2 separate regions of the Homo sapiens genome follow, and region 2 is linked to region 1. The links are contacts of gene promoters, found by promoter capture Hi-C in blood cells and fetal thymus (Javierre and others, 2016). All regions are on one chromosome and are shown on one strand. Each heading gives the region's core, a stretch centred on a gene start or on the middle of the fragment in contact. The rest is flanking DNA. Distances are from core to core; before and after follow the strand shown. Region 1 holds the start of ERCC2 (ERCC excision repair 2, TFIIH core complex helicase subunit). Region 2 overlaps OPA3 (outer mitochondrial membrane lipid metabolism regulator OPA3).

Region 1 (7,102 bases), core at 4,603-7,102:
AGGGCCCTCCCACTACCCGCAAACCCCACTTTAGTTTTTTTTTCCTCTAGTGATCGCCATTTTTTTTTTTTTTTTGAGATGAGTCTCACTCATGGTTCACTGCAACCTCAACGTCCCAGGCTTAAATGATCCTCCCGCCTCAGCCTCCCAAGTAGCTGGGACTATAGGCACCACATCCCACTAATCTCTCTCTTTTTTTTTTTTTAATTTTCCGTAGAGACAGGATCTCACCGTGTTGCCGAGGCTGGCCTTGAATTCCTGGGCTCAAGTGATCCTCCTGCCTTGGCCTCCCAAAGTGCTGGGAATATAGACATGATTCACTGCACCCAACCAACATTGGATTGATATTCTCTTAAATTCTCCAACTTTTTCTCCCATTAAGGGACATAGTGCTGTTTATTAGATGGGTAATATCATAGATAATTCGACTTGGACCATGGAGTTCATTCAAATTGTGTATCTTGACAATTTTAGTATTGGCTGATGTAACATGACAATCTAGGAGAGTATTTCCTTGGTATTTAATTCATGTTCTGCTTGGTTTAGCAATTTTATAAACCAGCCTAGGCCTTGCACAGTGGCTCATGCCTGTAATCCCAGCGCTTTGGGAGGCCAAGGCAGGTGGATCACCTGAGGTCAGGAGTTCGAGACCAGCCTGGCCAACATGGTGAAACCCCGTCTCTACTAAAAATAAAAAAATAAAAAAAAAAATAGCCGAGCATGGTGGTGGGTGCCTGTAATCCCAGCTCCTGGGGAGGCTGAGGCAGGAGAATCACTTGAAACCGGGAGGCGGAGGTTGTGGTGAGCCAAGATCGTGCCACTGCAATCCAGCTTGGGCAACAAGAGTGAAAATCCATCTCAAAAATAATAAAATAAAATAAAATAAAATATAAACCAGTCAGTTTCTTCATTAGAGTTCTGGAAATTCTTACCCAGTCCAAACAATATGATCCTAAAATTTATCAGAAACCTATACTCAGGCTGGGTACAGTGGCTCACGCTGGTAATCCCAGCACTTTGGGAGGCCATGGCGGGCAGATCCCTTAAGCCCAGGAGTTCAAGACCAGCCTGGGCAACGTGGCGGAACCATGTCTCTACTAAAAATACAAAAAATTAGCTAGGCACGGTGGTGCACACCTACAGTCCCAGCTACTCAGGAGGCTGAGGTGGCAGGATCACTTAAGCCTGGGAAGTTGAGGCTGCACTGAGCCATGTTCTCACCACTGCACTTCAGCTGGAGCAACAGAAGTGAGACCCTGTCTCAAAAAAAAAAAAAAAAAAAAAAGAGAGAGAAAAGAAACTTTTATGCAACAGTGCTTGTCAGGGTCCTTCCATCCTTTCTCTCTTTCTCCCTTTCTCTCTCTCTCTCTGTCTCTTTCTCTCTTTCTCTCTTTCCTTCTTTCTTCCTTTCTGAGACGGAGTCTGTTGCCCAGGATGGAGAGCAATGGCGCGATCTTGGCTTACTGCAACCTCTACCTCCCAGGTTCAAGCCATTCTCCAGCCTCAGCCTCCCAAGTAGCTGGGACTACAGACATGTGTCACCACGCCCGGCTAATTTTTGTATTTTTAGTAGAGATGAGGTTTCACCATGTTGGCCAGGCTGGTCTCCAACTCCTGACCTCAAGTGATCCGCCCGCCTCGGCCTCACAAAGTGCTGGGATTATAGGCGTGAGCCATCACTCCTGCCATGGAGCTGACTTTTGTTTTTTTCGAGACAGAGTTTCACTCTTGTTGCCCAGGCTGGAGTGCAATGGCGCGATCTCGGCTCAGCGTTAACCTCTGCCTCCCAGGTTCAAGCGATTCTCCTGCTTCAGCCTTCTGAGTAGTTGGGATTACAGGCATGCGACACCACACCCAGCTAATTTTTGCATTTTTAATAGAGATGAGGTTTCACCGTGTTGGTCAGGCTGGTCTGGAACTCCTGACCTCACATGATCCACCTGTTCCAGCCTCCCAAAGTGCTGGGATTACAGGCGTGAGCCCCCGCGCCCAGCCAGGAGCTTTCTAAACAAAATAAATAAGTAAAATATTCAGCATGTCACATGGTTAAATGAGCTCTCAAGAACAATAAAGCAGGGAAAGGGGATATAGTGTGTGTGTGTGTGTGTGTGTGCGTGCGTGCGTGTGTGTGTGTGCGTGCGTGCGTGCGTGTGTGTGTGTGTCTAGGAGGTAGATTTAATTTGGTGGTCAGGAAGCCCTCATTGAGAAGGAGACTTTTTTTTTTTTGAGACAGAGTCTTGCTTTGTCACCCAGGCTGGAGTACAGTGGCATGATCTTGGCTCACTGCAGCCTCTGCCTCCCGGGTTCCAGCAATTCTCCTGCCTCAGCCTCCCGGGTAGCTAGGATTACTGGTATGTGCTACCATGCTTTGCCAATTTTTGTATTTTTAGTAGAGACGGGATTTCACCATCTTGGCCAGGCTGGTCTCGAACTCCTGATCTCAGGTGATCTGCCCACCTCAGCCTCCCAAAGTGGTAGGATTACAGGTGTGAGCCACCATGCCGGGCCGAGAAGTTGACAATTGAGCAAAGAGCTGAGGGAGGTGAGTGTGTCAGCCACATGGCTATCAGGGGAAACAGCATTCCAGGCAGACAAAATAGCTGGTGCAAAGGCCCTGAGATGGGATGTGCTTGTTATGTTTTAGAGACAGCAAGGAGACCAGCATAGCTGAAACAAAATGAGCTGGGGGAGAGAGAGGAGGAGATCAGAGCAGTAAGGTGGGTTGGTATGGGGATGATGAGCAGTAAGCTAGTTACAGAGGACTCTGTAGGTGACAGTAAAGATTTTGGATCTGGGCTGGATGCAGAGGCTCACGCTTGTAATCCCAGTACTTTGGGAGGCTGAGGGAACAGGATGGCTTGAGCCCAATACCAGCCTGGGCAACATAGCGAGACCCTGTCAATAACAAAATATATTTTCTTCCTGTAGGAGATAGAAAAGTAAACATAAAAAAATTTATGTAAATAAATTAAGCCGGGCACAGTGGCTCACGTCTGTAATCCCACCACTTTGGGAGGCTGAGGTGGGAGAATTGCTTGAGCTCAGGAGTTCAACCAGCCTGGACAACATAGTGAGATACCCTCGTCTCTACAAAAAATTAAAAAAAATTAACCAGGCGTGGTGTCGTGTACCCGCAGTCCCAGCTACTCAGGAGGCTGAGGTGGGAGGATCACTTGAGCCCTGGAGGTCAAGGTGGCAATGAGCCAAATTCACACCACCATACTCCAGGCTGGGACAGAGCAAGACTCTGTCTCCAAAAATACAGCCGGGAAGGGTGGCTCACACCTGTAATCCCAGCACTTTGGGAGGCTGAAGTGGGTGGATCTTTTGAGGTCAGGAGTTTGAGGCCAGCCTGGCCAACATAGTGAAACCCCGTTTCTACTAAAAGTATAAAAATTAGCTGGGCAGTAGTGGTGCGCACCTGTAATCCCAGCTACTAGGGAGGCTGAGGCCAGAGAATTGCTTGAGCCTGGGTGGCAGAGGTTGCGGTGCGCTGAGATTGTGCCACTGTACTCCAGTCTGGGCGAAAGAGTGAGACCTTGTCTCAAAAATAAATAAATTAAGAATTAATTAATTTAAAAAAGAGATTTCGATCTGCCCCTGCCTTCCCCTCCAGCTGCCCTTTCTCTGCTCCCTGTGCTCAACTCAGAGCTCCACCCCCACAGGCTTCCTTTCAGCACTCACAGGCCTCAGCTTTCTTCTGGCCTAGAGCTTTTGTGTATGATGGTCTCTCTCCCTGGAACACCTTTCTCACTTCTCTCATCCATCCCCTCTTGCTGGTTGATCTCTTCTAATTATTTTCTGGCTCTACTCAAACCTCGCTTCTTCCACGAAGCCTTCTCTGATCACTTGGCCAACACTCACACCCCACAGTTGACAGTAGACATCCTGTCATAATAAGTCTTTTTTTTTTTTCTTTTTCTGGGACGGAGTCTTGCTCTGTCACGCAGGCTGGAGTGCAGTGGCGTGATCTTGGCTCACTTCTGCCTCCTGGGTTCAAGCAATTCTCCTGCTTTAGCCTCCCGAGTAGATGGGATTACAGATGCATGCCACTATGCCTGGCTTTTTTTTTTTTTTTTTTTTTTTTAGTAGAGATAGGGTTTCACCATGTTGACCAGGCTGGTCTTGAACTCCTGACCTCGTGATCCATCTGCCTTGGCCTCCCAAAGTGCTGGGATTACAGGCATGAGCCACTGCACCCAGCCCATAATCAATCTTTATGGTGACTTGAAGTTTTCCTTCACAGCACTTTTGTACTTGTGATTATACACGTGCGCACACACACACACACACACACACACACACACATTTGAGATAGGTTTTCACTCCTGTTGCCCAGGCTGGAGTGCAGTGGCACAATCACTGCCCATTGCAACCTCTGCCTCCCAGGCCCAGGTGATTCTCCCACCTCAGCCTCCTGAGTATCTGGGACTACAGGTGCACGCCACCACGCCCAGCTAATTTTTGCATTTTTTGTAGAGACGGGTTTTCACCATGTTGCCCAGGCTGGTCTCTAGCTCCTGAGCTCAAGCAATGTACTCGCCTTGGCCTTCCAAAGTGTTGGAACCACAGGCACGAGCCACCACTCCAGGCTGTAATCATATATTCATTTGTATATTTAATATCTGTTCTTTGAGGCCAGGCCTGGTGCCTCACCCCTGTAATCCCAACAATTTGAAAGGCTGAGGGGAGAGGATCACTTGAACCTGCGAGTTTAACCAGCCTGGGCAACGTGGTGAGACCTCGTCTCTAAAAAAATTTAAAAAATAAAACTTAGCTGGGCTTGGTGGTGCACACCTGTGGTCCCAGCTACTCTGGAAGCTGAGGTGGGAGGATCGCTTGAGCCCAAGAGGTGGAGGCTGCAGTGAGCTGTGACTGTGCCACTGCACTCCAGCCTTGGCGACAGAGAAAGACCCTGTCTCAAGGAAAAAAATCTGTTCTTTGAGGGCAGGTGCTGAGGCTGTCATGGTCACCTTTCTGTTCCCAGGGGCCAGCACAGGATCAGACACATGGTAGATGCCACATAGCTATTTGTTGAAGAAACAAACAAAAGCTAGCATTTATGTTTTATTTATTAGTTATTATTATTAATATTTGAAATGGAGTTTCGCTTTTGTTGCCCAGGCTAGAGTGCGACGGCGCCATCTCTGCTCACTGCAACCTCTGCCTCCCAGGTTCAAGCAATTCTCCTGCTTCAGCCTCCCGAGTAGCTGGGATTACAAGCATTTGCCAGCACGCCCGGCTAATTTTGTATCTTTAGTAGAGACAGGTTTTCTCCATGTTGGTCAGGCTGGTCTTGAACTCCCGACCTCAGGTGATCCACCTGCCTCAGCCTCCCAAAGTGCTGGGATTACAGGCTTGAGCCACCGCGCCCGGCCTGCAAAGCCATTTCTAACTCTTGGGCCCAGAAAGGATCACCAATTTCCCTGTCATTCTCCGTTAGACTATTCGCTACTGAGACGATTTTTTTTTTTTTTTGAGACGAGGTGGAGGGGCGGGGGTTCTCGCTATCTTGCTCAAGCTGATCTCGAACTCCTGGGTTCGATCAATACTCAGACAATCTTGGCAGGCGCAGGAGGACCAAATTCTAGTGAATGAGATCGAGTCTCTCGGCTCTTTCCCTTCCATGTTTTCTTTTTGATTGGCCCTCGACGATCCTCAGTGACGCCTCCCGCACCGCCTCACCCGAGAGTCAGCCGCCCTCGCTTTTCCGTGCGCACGCGCAGTATCCCGATTGGCTCTGCCCTAGCGGATTGACGGGCAGGTTAGCCAATGGTCTCGTAATATAGGTGGAGCGAGCCCTCGAGGATGTCCACGACCCGGCCTCTCGCTGAATATTCATGAGGGAGGCGGGTCGACCCCGCTGCACAGTCCGGCCGGCGCCATGAAGTGAGAAGGGGGCTGGGGGTCGCGCTCGCTAGCGGGCGCGGGGGGTCTTGAAGATGGGGTCATCGGTGGGCGCGCCTGGGTCCCCAAGGGGGCGAGGGGAGGGTGAAGGGGTGGGACGGGGGCAGCCGCAGGGAGCAGCAGTGATAGCGAGGAGACACTGAGGGGGCCCCGAGGCTCCTGAGGACCTGAGGGTTACCGGGGGCGCCGGGCCCGTCACCCTTCTCTGGGCTCGACGACCGGGCACTGTGGAGGCGGGAGAGGGGCTGAGGGGACGGGAACTGACCCAGCAGCCCCTGCCGCCAGGCTCAACGTGGACGGGCTCCTGGTCTACTTCCCGTACGACTACATCTACCCCGAGCAGTTCTCCTACATGCGGGAGCTCAAACGCACGCTGGACGCCAAGGTGGGTGGCCGGTGGGCCCGACCCGCCCACTCGACCGGTGGGGCTGCCACGCCTGGGCCTAAGACAGATTGCAGGACGTCTGGATTTTAGAAGTCCGAGGTCCCTGGGAATCCAGGACCCCATAATCTTCCGTTATCTAAAACAATAATGGTGAATAGGCTGGGCGCGGTGGCTCGCGCCTGTAATCCCAGAGCTTTGGGAGGACGAGGCGGGCGGATCACTTGAGGTCAGGAGTTGGAGACCAGCCTGGCCAACACGGTGAAACCCCGTCTGTACTAAAAATACAAAAATTAGCCAGGTGTGGTGGCGGGCGCCTGTAATCCCACCTACTCGGGAGGCTGAGGCAGGAGGATCGCTTGAGGCCAGGAGTTGGAGGCTGCAGTGAGCCATGATTGTGCCACTGCATTCCAGCCTGGGCAATAGTGACACTTGTCTCTTAAAAAAGAAGGGAGAAAAGTTCACTATATATCAGCTACTGTGCCAAATATTTAACCTGCAATTTCTCACAATCCTCATAGTCATGTTATGAGGAAGGTTTTATTATTAGGCCCATTTTATTTTATTTATTTATTTTTGAGATTGAATTACAGGTGCGCGCCACCACATCTGGCTAATTTTTTGTATTTTTAGTAGAGACGGGGTTTCACCTTGTTGGCCCAGCTGGTCTTGAACTTCTGACCTCAGGTGGTTCACCTGCCTCAGCCTCCCAAAGTGCTGGGATTACAGGTGTGAGCCACCACGCCTGGCTTTAGGCTCATTTTAGAGATAGGGATACTGAGGTCTGGGGAGGTGAAGGTACTTGCCTAAGAC
Region 2 (7,031 bases), core at 2,009-4,508, 200 kb before region 1:
AAGTACTCTGTACATGTTTATTTACTTATTTATTCATTTTATTTGTTTATTTTTTGAGACAGAGTTTCGCTCTTGTTGCCCAGGCCGGAGTGCAGTGGCGTGATCTCAGCTCACCGCAACCTCCACCTCCTGGGTTCAAGTGATTCTCCTGTCTCAGCCTCCCGAGTAGCTGAGATTACAGGCATGTGCCACCATGCCCAGCTAATTTTTTGTATTTTTAGTGAGACGTGTGAATATAAGATGAGATTTGGGTGGGGACACAGCCACACCGTATCACTTGGCCTGGGGGATGGGGACTATGCTGTGGGGGAATTGGGCAGGCAACAGCCTTGTGTAGAACCAGGTCTCTGGCAAGGTACCTGGTGAACTAGAAAAAAACCTCCGTCTGAAGGCACACAAGCTTTGCCCTAGGTAGAGACTGATACATTCTCCTCTGAGAATTTGTAGCCACTGACTGTCCCTCATGTGGGCTTGGGGCCTCTTTGAAAGGTCCTGGAAGTTGCAGGCTGAGAATGAACCCCTAGGGGTACCTAATTGTATCTAAGCACCTGGCAAGGGCAAACATAAACTCTTCCTGCCTGTGCTCTCTCTGCCCAGGCCTTGGAGAAATCCTTCAGATAGAGTTCCAGCACATACAAGCTCACAGTAAAAAAAAAATATATATAGATAGATATATATCGAGATATATATCTATATATATAGTATGATATATATATCTATATATAGTATGATATATATAGATATATATCGAGATATATATCTATATATATAGTATGATATATAGGTATATATTGAGATATATCATATATATAGTATGATATATATAGATATATATCTCATATAGATATATATGATATATATCGATATATATATTTATATACATATATCATGATATATATGATATATATCAATATATATATTTATATACATATATCATGATATATATCCATATATGATATATATATCATATGATATATATATCTCATATCTCATATATGATATATATCTCATATATCTCGATATATATGATTATTATATGATATATGATATATATCATATATTGATATACATATATCATGATATATATCGATATATATCGATAATCTCATATGTTGATATATATGAGATATATATCGATATATATCTCATATATGTCGATATATATGAGATATATATCGATATATATCTCATATATGTCGATATATATGAGATATATATCGATATATATACTATATATATTTTTATTTTTTATTTATATGAGATATATAATCATATATATCGATATATATGAGAGATATATATATATCTCATATATATATCAGACCAACCTGACCAACATGGAGAAACCCCGTCTCTACTAAAAATACAAAATATATATATATATCAATATATATTGATATATATATATACACCACATGAAAAAAGCAGCCACCATGAGCGAGAGCCAGCAGAAAAACATGGCAGGTCACAGCCTGCAAACGTGGAATTATCAGATGTGGATATAAAATACCTAAGCTTATCTGTTAAGAGGATAAAAGAGAAGGATATTAAAACACAAGTAAAATGAAAAATTGCCAGGAAGCTGGAAAAAGAATTAAACAAAACTTCTAGAAAGGACAGCTACAACAGTTGGTGTTCAGCTCTCAATAGAAGGGCTAACTAACCACCAGGTTAAACACAACTGCCAAGAGGATTGGGGAGCTGAAAGGTGCACAATATGGAGGAAAACTAGTGAGCTTTCTGGGGCACTTCCAGTAGATGCCCAGGAGTGCTACCTGCAGGTCCTGATTTGGTGGACGTAGGGAAGGGGTGGACGTGTTTATTTTTAGCAGTCTCTAGAGTACATTCTCACACGCACCAGTGTTTGAAAATCACTTTGCTGGAGTTTATTTATAATCACCAGAGCGTCACATCAGTTATATTATATGGCAGCCAGGCTGCTGCTGGTGACCTCCAAACATTTATTATTATGTTCTCCTATCAAGGAAACACTTCTGAGGTTCCTTCCCTAGCATATATGTATGCACGTGTGTACACATATGTAAAATTATTTAGCAGTCAGCCAGGCACGGTGGCTCATGCCTGTAATCCCAGCACTTTGCGAGTCCAAGGCGGGTGGATCCCCTGAGGCGGGGAGTTCAAGACCAACCTGAACAACATGGAGAAACCCCGTCTCTACTAAAAAAATACAAAAAATTAGCTGGGCATGGTGGCGCATGCCTGTAATCTCAGCTACTTGGGAGACTGAGGCAAGAGTATCGCTTGAACCCGGGAGGTGGAGGTTGCGGTGTGCCAAGATCGCACCATTGCACTCCAGCCTGGGCGACAGAGCAAGACCCTGTCTCAAAAAAATAAAATAAAATAAGTAAATAAATAAATAAATGAAAGTATTTAGCAGTCATGTATAGCGCTAACATATAATAGTATGGTTATATTATATGCATTTAAAAACATACACAAAAATTAGAGGGATGAAACGAACATAAAAATTTTTAAAATAAACTTATTTATTCATGCCCCCCCCCCCCAAATAGTTTTGCTGTCACCGAAAACATTTTCCTATGCAGACATTATTAAGTAAATTTGGAAACTCTTGGTGAAACCCTCTGTGAGAGTCTGGCTTTGAATTTTTTTTTTTTTTTTTGAGACAGAGTCTCACTCTGTCGCCCAGGCTGGAGAGTAGTGGCACAATCTCGGCTCGCTACAACCTCCACCTCCCAGGTTCAAGTGATTATCCTGCCTCAGCCTCCCGAGCAGCTGGGATTACAGGCTTCTGCCACCACACCCGGCTAATTTTGTTTTGTTTTTGTTTTTTTCCCCAAGATGGAGTCTCACTCTGTCGCCCAGGCTGTAGTGCAGTGGTTCAATCTCAGCTCGCTGCAGCCTCCACCTCCCAGGTTCAAGCAATTCTCCTGCCTCAGCCTCCCAAGTAGCTGGGATTACAGGGGTGTGCCATTATGCCCAGCTAATTTTTTTTTGTATTATTATTGGAGATAGGGTTTCACCATATTGGCCAGGCTGGTCTCGAACTCCTGACCTCAGGTGATCTGCCCACCTCAGTCTCCCAAAGTGCTGGGATTACAGGCATGAGCCACCGCTCCCAGCCAGCTTTGACATTCTTTGTATGTGGCTGTCACAGCTGGCAAAGACCTAACTAAGGCACATAGTCTCAGATGGAAGAAGTGTGTCATTGGCTGCGTTTAATCTCGCTGCTCCTTTTTTAGTCCCACCCTTCATTATGCAGAGGCATTTGCTGGAATTTGCTCATGTACTCATGGCTAAATCTTCTGGCCGATTTCTGAACAGGGATCTTTTTCAGAAGCCCCTGTGTAGAGGGCTGGCTGATTTGCAACCTGAGTGCATCCCAGGGAATCTACTTGCGCTGGCTGCAAGCAATATGCCAAGTGGACAGGAGAGGGCGCCCGTGTCAGCCTGGGGATGGCGCCTGCCTGAGAAAGCACCAGAGGCCATCTCGGTCATTGACCCCGGTGTATCTCTGTATTAGTTTGTGCTCATCTGTAATTAATTGAAAACCCAGCCAGTAAATGTCAATCAAACCTTAAATCAAAAGGGTGTTTTTTGCTGGCTTTTCAGTAAGCCCTGAGGAAGGCCTGTTCTTGGTTGGTTTGGTGGCTCAGTGGTGTCATTGGGAACCTGAGGACTCCATCTCTGCTGTGTTGGTGCTCAGGCAGTCCTCATGGCCTCAGTAGGGCTGCTGCGGCTCCAGGCATTGTGCCTTTATGTTTCATAAGGGAGGAAGTCTATGCGTGTGTGTATGGAGGGGCGGGTGGTCAGGTAAGTGAGGGTAACGCTTCAAGGAGGAAAATCCTTTTCCAGAAGCCCCCAGGAAACTCCCCTCACTGCCAGCTTACCACAACCGGGTCACCTCCCACCCCTTGGTGTATGGGAGGTTGCAGTGGTGAGTATCGGCTTCTAAACTCTAATGGAGGTGGGGAGGATGGAATTACTAAGACAGTAGAGAATAATATAAAGTAGCACTGGTAATCAGACGCACTGAAGTTGTTCTGAAATCTTTTTTGTTTATTTTGAGACAGAGTCTTGCTCTGTCGCCCAGGCTGGAGTGCAGTGGCGCGATCTCGGCTCACTACAACCTCTGCCTCCTGGGTTCAAGTGATTCTTCTGCTTCAGCCTCCTGAATAGCTGTGACTACAGGTGCCCGCCACCACGCCCAGCTAATTTTTGTATTTTTAGTAGAGACGGTGTTTCACTATGTTGGCCAGGGAGGTCTTGAACTCCTGACCTCAAGTAATCTGTCTGCCTTGGCCTTCCAAAGTGCTGGGATTACAGGCGTGAGCCACAGCGCTCGGCCCTAGCCTCTCTGTTAATTGCGTCCTCTGAGCCTTAGAAACCCCTGAGTATCCTCTATACCAAGTTGAGTTGGTCTCTCCAGGCCTGGGAGGAGAGTAGAGGTGGGGATCATTTTCTGGGGTGTGGCTATGCTTCAGTCCATTAGGAGGCTGAGTAATTCATTCACTCAACAAATCTTTATTTAGTGCCTGCTGTGTGCCAGGAACTGTTCTAAGAGGCATGACTCAGTAGTCAACAGAACAAAGATCCTTGCTCTCATGGGGCACATTTGAGGGTATTAGTTACCTGCCTAGTGACCCCAGGGCACAGAGGGGTGCCTCATCCCGGATTTCCTGCCAAATTCCCAGGCTGAATCCAGTGGTCCACCCTGCGTCACATCCCCATCCCAGCACCGTCTCTGTGGCCCAGGGAAAGCAGTGCCCTAATTGGCCAGGCTCAGGAGTGGGGTTACCTCCTCCTGAATCCCTTGAACCAAAAGTTGGGGAGATAGGATCCCCCAGGATGCTGGGCAGATGGAACCAGTCATGCCCCTCTGGTAACTGGAGCATTGTGTGTTACTGCAGTCTCGGGTTGCTGTAATGGAAAGATCAAGCCAGGTCTGTGGGAGGAAGCACTGCCTATTGCGGCCTGCACAATTCTGTTAATACTTGGAGCACTGTTAGGGCAAGCTTAAAACTGGCTGGATTGGGCGGGGGCACAGTGGCTCACACCTGTAATCCTAGCAATTTGGGAGGCCGAGGTGGGCGGATCACCTGAGGTCAGGAGTTCGAGACCAGCCTGGCCAACATGGTGAAACCCCATCTCTACTAAAAATACAAAAATTAGCCAGATGTGGTGGGGCATGCCTGTAATCCCAGCTACTCGGGAGGCTGAGGCAGGAGGGTGGCTTGAAACCAGGAGGCAGAGGTTGCAGTGAGCCGAGATTGTGTCACTGCTCTCCAGCCTAGGTGGCAGAGCAAGACTCTGTCTCAAAAAATAAATAAATAACAAAATAAATAAATAAATTGACTGGATTGCCAGGTGGGGTGGCCAACACCCGTAATACCAGCATTTTGGGAGGCTAAAACTGGAGAATCACTTGACCTTTGGAGGCTCAGGTTGTAGTGAGCTGAGATCGTACCAGTGCACTCCAGCTTGTGTGATAGAGTGAGACTGTGTCTCAAAATAACAGTAATAATCATTGTCATCATCATCATCATCTGACTGGATCACATCTGGGGAAGTGCAACCAGGGCAGAGACTGGCTTGAAGCTACGTTTACCCTGAATAATAATTTATTGACTGATAATAACAGCTTTTATTTAATATGCTTTCCATTATCTCAGCAAATGATCTTAACCACCTTATTTAGGGAGTTTATGACCATCCTGGTTTTATGAGTGAGGAAATCTCTCAAAGCGAGAGAAACAGGTTCCCTGAGGCAGTACAGGATAAGAAGTCATATCCCACTGGCTCCCAAACTCCTCCTCTTATGTTTAATTATTGGCACTTGATTTTTTTGGTATATTCTTTGTTGAGATATAGTATCTGTACAATGCAAGGTACAGATCTAAAGGCTACAGTTCAATGAGTATTGGTACATGCATATACCCATGTAACTAGTACCCAAGATATAAAACATCGTCATTACTCTAGAAAGGTCCCTCCTCCCCTGCTCTGTCTCCTTATCTGACTTCTCTCCTTGTTGATTAGTTCTGCTTGTTGTTCAACTTGATATAAATGGAATCATACACTATGAAATTTATGTTTAGCTTTTGTTCATTTGATACTTCTGAGATACTTCTTGCTGAATGTATCAATAGTTCATTTCTTCTTCTTCTTTTTTTTTTTTTTTTTTTGACACAGGGTCTCCCCCTGTCACCCAGGCTGGAGGGCAGTGGCACAAACACGGCTCACTGCAGCCTCAACCTCCTGGGATCAAGCGATCCTCCTGCCTCAGCCTCCTGAGTAGCTGGGACCACAGGCACATGCCACCATGCCCGGCTAATTTATTTTATTTTTTGTAGAGATGGATCTCACTAAGTTGCCGATAGTGGTCTTGAACTCATGGGCCCAGGTGATCCTCACCGCTTGGCCTCCCAAAGTGCTGGGGTACAAGTGTGAGCCACCATGCCTGTCTAGTTTATTTTGTTATTTTGTTTATTACTCTTAATAAAAGTGTATTCTTTTCTTTTATTACAGTATATGAATATGCCATGCTTTGTTTAATAACTGTCCTAGTGATGGGCATTTGGGTTGTTTCCAAGTTATTGCAAGTAAAGGTGCTATGAACATTTGTGTACAAGCCTTTATATGGATGTTTTCATTTCTCTTGGTAGAAATGAAATTCTCCCAGTAATTATCTAGGAGTAAAATTTCTGGGTTATATGGTAAGGTTATATTTAATTTTATAAGCAGCTGGCTGAGCCAGGTGCGGTGGCTCACGCCTGTAATCCCAGCACTTTGGGAGGCTAAGGCGGGCGGATCACAAGGTCAGGAGATTGAGACCAGCCTGGCCAACATGGTGAAACCCTGTCTCTACTAAAAATACAAAAAAAAAATTAGCTGGGCATGGTGGCACGTGCCTGTAGTCCCAGCTATTTGGGAAGCTGAGGCAGGAGAATCACTCGAACCTAGGAGGCAGAGGTTGCAGTGAGTCGAGATCATCCACTGCACTCCAGCCTGGGCGACAGAGCGAGACTCCGTCTCAAAAAAAAAAAAAA

The links. Contacts are between HindIII fragments. The CHiCAGO score rates a contact against its expected background, and 5 or more counts as called.
Region 2: a contact is called between a fragment that was not itself captured here and the fragment with the promoter of ERCC2 in region 1, in 1 of 17 cell types (monocytes). The highest score is 6.2, in monocytes.

Annotation. Positions count from the first base shown.
Region 1 is chr19:45,369,323-45,376,424 of GRCh38, reverse strand. It overlaps ERCC2 (ERCC excision repair 2, TFIIH core complex helicase subunit), which reads left to right and starts at 5,852. Exons shown (of 23, transcript NM_000400.4): 1 at 5,852-5,889; 2 at 6,193-6,292. The coding sequence starts at 5,885. RefSeq lists enhancers at 1-246, 247-1,084, 5,559-5,638, 6,257-7,098. The HindIII fragment of the contact is 22,978 bases long and covers 1-7,102 here.
Region 2 is chr19:45,566,476-45,573,506 of GRCh38, reverse strand. The region is part of intron 1 of OPA3 (outer mitochondrial membrane lipid metabolism regulator OPA3); the gene reads left to right. Among named protein-coding and RNA genes, the nearest start is that of OPA3, 15 kb to the left of the region's middle. The HindIII fragment of the contact is 3,482 bases long and covers 1,518-4,999 here.